Regions from separate parts of the Homo sapiens genome. Here region 1 is linked to region 2. Evidence: promoter capture Hi-C in human tissues and cell types (Jung and others, 2019). All regions are on one chromosome and are shown on one strand. Each heading gives the region's core, a stretch centred on a gene start or on the middle of the fragment in contact. The rest is flanking DNA. Distances are from core to core; before and after follow the strand shown. Region 1 overlaps PSMB2 (proteasome 20S subunit beta 2). Region 2 holds the start of AGO3 (argonaute RISC catalytic component 3).

What was found. The method cuts DNA at HindIII sites, captures the fragments that hold promoters and counts their contacts. A contact is called where the count stands out against the background at its distance.
Region 1: a contact is called between a fragment that was not itself captured here and the fragment with the promoter of AGO3 in region 2, in 1 of the 25 tissues and cell types used here (adrenal gland).

The regions. Positions count from the first base shown.
Region 1 is chr1:35,626,757-35,630,587 of GRCh38, forward strand. The region is part of intron 3 of PSMB2 (proteasome 20S subunit beta 2); the gene reads right to left. Among named protein-coding and RNA genes, the nearest start is that of PSMB2, 13 kb to the right of the region's middle. The HindIII fragment of the contact is 9,137 bases long and covers 1-3,831 here.
Region 2 is chr1:35,929,854-35,933,326 of GRCh38, forward strand. It overlaps AGO3 (argonaute RISC catalytic component 3), which reads left to right and starts at 1,252. Exons shown (of 19, transcript NM_024852.4): 1 at 1,252-1,592. The coding sequence starts at 1,574. It overlaps AGO1 (argonaute RISC component 1), which reads left to right. Exons shown (of 19, transcript NM_012199.5): 19 at 1-679. RefSeq lists enhancers at 868-1,391, 1,392-1,916, 1,917-2,439 and silencers at 895-1,404, 1,415-1,754. The HindIII fragment of the contact is 14,720 bases long and covers 1-3,473 here.

The sequences.
Region 1 (3,831 bases), core at 93-2,592, 300 kb before region 2:
ATAACAGATACATATGTAAGTATTTAGAATAGCACTGTCCAAGAGAACTTCTATGATGATGGATATGTTCCAGATCTGTGATGTCTAATACAATAGTTGTGGCTATTGGGTACCTGAAATGTGGCTGTGACTGAGGAACAGAATTTTTTTTTTTAAGAACAAAAGTTGATTTAGCATTCAGGCAAAGTCTACCAGGAGATTTTCCACCAGAAACTGAATTTTAAGTTTTATTTAATTTTAATTAACTTAAATTTAAATAGCCCCATGTGGCTAGTTGGCTACCATACTGGACTGTGTAGATCTAGAAAAATCCTAGCACATAATATATGTTCAATGTTATTTTACTTCTATTTTCCCTATCAATACCAGCATGGTGGCTTGGCGCCTGTAGTTCCAGCTATTTGGGAGGCTGAAGTGGGAGTATTGTTTGAGCCCGGGAGGTTGAGGCTGCAGTGAGCTGTGACTGTGCCACCTCTTAGGTGACAGAGCGAGACCCTATCTCAAAAAAAAAAAAAAAAAAAAAAAAGCACAACAAATGATCCCTCACGAAAAACTAACTTATAGCCATTAAATTGCTTCTTTGACCAAACAGCAATCGCAGCATAAAAACACAAGTGGGCTGGGCATGGTGGCTCATGCCTGTAATCCTAGCACTTTGGGAAGCAGAAGCGGGAGGATTGCTTGAGCCCAGGAGTTCGGGACCAGCCTGGCAACATGGAGAAACCCCATCTCTACAAAAAATTAGCCAGGCATAGTGGTATGCACCTACAGTCCCAGCTGCCAGGGAGGCTGAGGTGGAAGGATCATCTGGGCCTGAAAGGTCAAGGGGCTGCAGAGAGCTGTGGTCATACCACTGCACTCCAGCCTAGATGACAGAGTGAGATCCTGTCTCAAAAAAAAAGTAAGAGCTTTGCATTATTACCTTATTTAATCTTCATAATAACTTTTTGAAATTGGTAAGTAGGGAAATTAAGCTTAGAATTTGTCCAAAGACATCCAGCTAGTAAGTCAGTAAGCAAATATTCAAACCCAGGTAGTCCAATTCCAGAGACTATGCTCTTAACCACAATGCTAAATTGCCTACATTTTAATGAACCAGTTTATGTAAGATTCATTATATACTCAGTGGTAGTAAATGTCCTCCCAACCAAACCACCACACATACACAGAGCAAATTAGAAATCAAACAATTTGAGCTACAGACACAGAAGTTATACATGGTAACTGGCTGACCCAAAATGAGTCACATCTGCCAACTGGTGTGACCATATAAATATACTAAATTTGGTGACTTTGCACTTATTAGGAACACTGACAAACTATCATCTCTCTTCCCAGAATAAGACGACTAAAATATAAATTCATATTTTAGAACTAAGAATCTATTTTGATAAGGAGATGGGGGAGCAGAGATTGGACCTACTGGAAAAGCTCAGGCAGAGGTAGTCAATATTTACCAGAGCCCCATGTCACTGTCTACAAGGGATATTTGTTAAGACATCAAACATTTCTGCTAGGAGAAGATTAAACCAGATTCACTGCATTTGCATGAAGCACACTGCCATTCTTATCTCAATTCCAAAAAGGAGCTTAATTCACTTAATGTCTGTGATATTTATGACACAGTATTTATTGTGCCCAAAGCTGGAATTCTTACTCCGGTTCTGCCTGATAAGTCAGAGGAACATCGTACATGGCAAGTCATAAAATGCTGAACACCACAGGAACTTCTGGGTGACAGAAAAACTAATATCTGACCCATTTTCCTTTCTCAAGGAGGAGTGAAGAAAAGACCACTTGGTGACAATGACTTTCTTGGAAGAAAAAAAAAAAAAAAAAAATATATATATATATATATATATATATATATATATATTTTTTTTTTTTTTTTTAAAGAAAAGACTACTGATCTTTCACCCAGGACAAAACAATGTATGTAAATTTGCCTCCTCCTCTCAATCCTACATGTCTCTAGCTTCTCTTCAAACTTCATGATCCCTCAGATTGTACAAGCCCTTGGTCAAAGCTAGCACTGAGAGGTACTATTTATTGAGAAATTATCAGTCAAAGATTATTAGGCACTAGAAAATAAACTGCTTTATAGATCTGTAGTAAGTAACTTTAAAAAAAGTAACTTGTTATTTTAAGCAAGTACAGATGAAAACTCAAACCATAATAAAAATATGAATAGCATCAGTGTTCTAGAAACACTACTGAAGAACCAAAGGCAGAATAGTCAAATAATTATGGCACCATTATTTTAGCTTTGTCTGACCTGCTGTGTGACCTGGAGCTAGTCCCTTTGACACTTTATGCCTTTCACTTCATCTCAGTGATAGAGACTATCTTTCTCAGTGGAATAGTGAGTAGATTAAATTATTAAGCAAAATGCTTTGGGCAAAAGTCACATGAATGTTAAATATTATGATTTACAAGCATTCATTTTCCTGGCACCCCTGTGGGGTTAGGAAGTTATCTCCATTTCATAGATAAGTAAACAGGCACAGGGGGTGAGATCACGTGGTAAGGCTCTATTTATTTAGTCCCTGTGGGAAGGGAATAACACACACCTTTAGCAACCATATGAACTTTCCTAGCACATCCTACACAATCTTTAATGCATTCAATCCTTAACTTAGTGTTGCATCTTTTAACATGCTGTCGATGAAATGGAGACAGCTCTAGAATAGCAACAAGGCTAGAATAAGTAAGGAGGAACAATGCTGTATGCTTTGGGAAAAAGTCATAGAAAAACACAGGTAAGTACGCCAGGTACAGTGAGTGGCTCATTCCTATAATCCCAGCACCCTGAAAGGCCAAGGCCAGCAGATTGCTTGAGTCCAGGAGTTCAAGACCAGCCTGGGCCACATGGTGAAATCCTGCCTCCACTAAAAATACAAAAAATTAGCCAGATGTGGTGGTGCACACCTGTAGTCCCAGCTACTTGGGAGGCTGAGGTGGGAGAATCACCTGAACCCGGGAAGTTGAGGCTTCAGTAAGCTGAGATCACACCACTACACTCCAGCCTGGGCAACTGGAGTGAGACCCCGTCTCAAAAAAAAAAAGAAAAAAGAAAAAGAAAAAAAGAGAAACACAGATAAGCAATCTCGAGATAAAAATCCACATTACCGGCCAGGTGCGGTGGCTCGCGCCTGTAATCCCAGCACTTTGGGAGGCCAAGGCGGGCAGATCACCTGAGATCAGGAGTTCGAGACCAGCCTGACACCTGACCAACATGGAGAAACCCCGTGTCTGCTAAAAATACAAAATTAGCTGGGCGTGGTGGTGCATGCCTGTAATCCCAGCTACTTGGGAAATGGAGGCAGGAGAATCACTTGAACCCAGGAGGCAGAGGTTCCAGTAAGCCAAGATTGCACCATTGCACTCTAGTTTGGGCAACAAGAGTGAAACTCCATCTCAAAAAAATAAAAATAAAAATAATCTGAATTATTATTTTCAAAGTTCTACTTTCACTAACACATAGAGACTTTCAGTCACAGGTATTAAGTAATATGGTTTGTTACAAAAACACTTTGAAAAAACTAAACGTACTCTTACTATATGATCCAGCAATCACACTCCTTGGTATTTACGCAAAAAAAAACTTATGTTCAAACAAAAACCTGCACATGGATGTATACATTAGCTTTATTCATATTGCCAAAACTTGGAAGCAACCAAGATGTCCTTCAGTAGGTGAATGGATAAATAACCTGTAGTATATCTAGACAATGGAGTATTTTTCAATGTTAAAAAGAAATGAGCTATCAAGCCATGAAAAGACATAGGGTAACCTTAAACGTGTATTACCAAATAAAAGAAGCCAATCTG
Region 2 (3,473 bases), core at 2-2,501:
TACAAACTGTGTAAGGTACATGCTGTTCTCTCAATTTTTCAGATAAGAAAATTGAAGCCCAGAGAGATCAAGTGACTGATCCAAAGTCCCACAGTGAGGGGAACTGAAGATAGGATATTCTTTCTCCTTTTCCTCTTTAAAAAATTATTTTGATTAAAAAAAACCGTATTACTGAAGCATAGGGACATGGGGAGAAATTATGAATGATTCCTCAGCCTGAATAAAATAGTATGTTTCATTAAGGCAACAAATATTTATTAAGGACCTAATATTTGCCTGACATTCAAGTGAGGTGGGGGGCACACAAGTAGTAAATAAATAACAGACTGGGCAAAGGGCTACCAAGGCAATACTGTAGTAGACTAACAGGTGCCCCACCATAGATGGGTGGTCCGGAAAAGGCGTCTCAGATGTCTTTCGTTGAGACGCAAAAAAAAGCTGTGGGGTAGGGCGTAAGGGGAGGGTGGAGAAGAGAGAGAGGGTTCCTGGCCAAGGGAACCAAAAGCAGAGAAGCTCCAAGTCAGAAAAAAGCAGCGGTTGGCCCGTTGGGAGAATTGGAAGCCAACCAGTATAGCTGTAGCACAGGCGGGGCCCATTTACGCCGTGCGTTTTCACCCTGGAAAGGAGTTTGGGTTTTCAAGTGTGACGAGGCGCTATTAAAGAGTTTTAAACATGGAAATTACTCGATCTGATGTTTGTGTAGTGTCCTGTTTGTTAGTCATCTTTTCCAAACTATAATACATTTTTTTTTTCCTAAAAATGGTCGTTAAAGCAGCCTAGGACTTAGGTCAATTGCGGTGGTCACTTGACCGCCTGTGAGGAGGCGGCGCGTGGGGTGGATCGGACTGGGCGTGGCGGGGGCTCAGGAAGGAGGGTGGCCCTACCCCAGCGGGCTCGGCTCGGGGCCTCCGCGGCAGTTCGGGGTCCTTCACCCGCCGGCTCCAGGTAGGCTACTCCTCAGGTAAGCCCCGCCGCCAGCCGCGACGTCGTCGCAGACAGGCACCGCCCCCACTCGTGCGGCGCGAGTAGTCCTGCCCCTCCGCGTTGTCTCCGGCCGGCACGGCCCGGCGGGGTACGGCCGAGCCCGCCGCATGTGGCCCGGCTCCCGGACACCTCCCCGGCGTCCTCCGCGCCGGCCGCTCCTGCCCCGACGTCGCTCCGGCACGGCTCGGGGCCCAGAGGCGAGGCGAGGACGCCGGGCAAGCCAGGCAGCGGAACTGACGCCGGCGAGCTTCCGGGGCGGCCCCGGGCAGGTCGGCGGCGGCGGCCCGCAGTCGTGGAGGAGCGGTGGGAGCGTCGGCGGCCGCGGGCGATGCAACTTCCGGACGGGACTCCCCTCTGTCCGCGCCTCACATCTCCCCTTCCTCTCGCCTAGTCCTGTGCCGTTTTCCGTCCGCGACTCTTCCGGCCCAGAGCTTTCGGAGTGCGGTTGCTCAGGGGAAGCCGTCGCCGCCCCCGCCTCGGGGCCGAGTGAGAGTGCCCGTCGCGTCGCGCCGCGTCGCCCCCCGGGCCGCCTCCTTGCCGCCAGTGGCGGGCTCCGTTCTCCCTCGAAGCACTCCCCCCAGCTCCATGAATGGAAATCGGCTCCGCAGGTGAGTCAGAGTAGCTGGGCCAGGTAGGGGATGTCACCCAGCTACTGTCCTCTGAGCATCCCTGCTCCTCCCGCCCGGCCCAGGTGCGCGAGGTGAGCGTCGGGCGGGCATCGCTCGGTCTCCCGCCCCTCGCCCTGCTCCTCCGCGACCTCCCCGCAGCCCAGCCCCAGTTCCCCGGGGGCCCCTGAGTCGGCGAAACTGCGAGGCGGGGAAACGCTTGGAGGATTTAAGTTTGGGGTTATCTAGGCGGCATTACTCTTTGCTGGAGTACCCTTCTTCTAGACTTTAGAATGGTTTGCCATTGTCTAGTTGGAGTGCGTGTCCTTTAGCCAGGTTGTGTGTTCCGTAGAGGCTGGGCAGCCAGCCAGCTCCCTTACCTACCTCTTAGGATAGTTGTGAAGATAGGCTGAGATAACGGATAACTTCAGATTAAGTTCGAAGGAGGTGTTGGTGCAACGTTAAATTCAACATGGCATTGCTCCTACCCTCGAGTTCTTTTCTGTTGTTTGTGGCAGCATGGTAGATAGTTTCTGAGGAGCTTGGAAATGTCATAGCAGCCTGGATCCCTGCTTATACGAGGAGGTGGTTCTTAAAATTGCTGACAGTATATTTTTTTTCATTCTCTATTCCTTAGAGAAGTAGTTGTCATATTCCTGGAAATTTGGAATTTAAGAAAACTGCTTTATCTCTGGGGGCAAGAGCAGCAGTTTTGCAGTCTTAAGAGAAAATTGCAACATGGATAGTACTTGTCCTTAAAAAAGGAAAAGTATTGTTTATGGTTCTAAAGTAATTAATTCAGGGACAGAAAGGTGTTGCATAACGGTTTGCCTAACAAATGATCATGCTTGGCTTATTAAATTTGAAAGTATGCTTCAGACGATCACAAGTTCGTAAATTAATTTTCAAAATATTTGCGGGGCTGTCTTGTTACTAATGGTGTTACAAGTTCCTGAATTCCATATCTCTTTTTGCCAATTTGATATAAGAAAAACTTACGTAAAAGAAACCAGTGACATAACGATAGCTAAGAACTTTGTTGAATAGATTACGTGTCAAATGGTTGCAAAAAAGCACTCAAACTGGGGAGATGAGATGGGGAGAGAGTTACAAATTTTTTTTTTTTTTTTTTACAAATTTTGTTACATGGAAGTTTCTCTAATCAATTTAGACCATATCTCTTTTTCCTGCTCCATTGTTTCGCTTTCCCCCATATCGTCTTAAAAGGTCTGTCTGGATTGTGAAAAGATTTCGACTCTTATTCAGTTTTGATTTGTGTATTTCTGAAACTGTCCTGCCCTTTTAAAAAAATTACCATACTACTGTTTTACTGTACAGGAGATGTGATTATTTGGGACCATAGGTGATCTTTGTACATAACTGTCCTGTTGTCAAGTCTGGAAAACAAGTCATGAAGGTCAGACCCTTTATTAATCATCCCAAAACTTTTAAAGATATTTCAAAAAAGTTTTTAAAGTTTTTTCTTTTTCTCCTTAGGGTTTTTCATATGATATTGTGCCCATATATATGGGAAATGTCTTAGAAAACATTTGTTACATCAAACCACCTAGTCAACTGGTACAACTAAGCCAAGTACAGCTCAGAAAATACATTTTACCTCTTCTTTTTTGGGTGTCCCATTGCTGAAATGGATACCCATTTAGCTGTCTTCACATTTGGGGAAGTGTGTAGTTAGATTATCAACTATATGCCTGGGTCTCTTGAAAAGTAAAGTTTTTTCTTCAGTACAGTTTATACATGATTGAATGTAGCCTAATAATGAAGATAAGCTATACTTTGGCTCAAGATTGTCATCAGAAACAAAATTTTCATTATTCCTGAGACTTGTATATAATTGGTATGCTTAGCTTTAAGTTGAAAGCA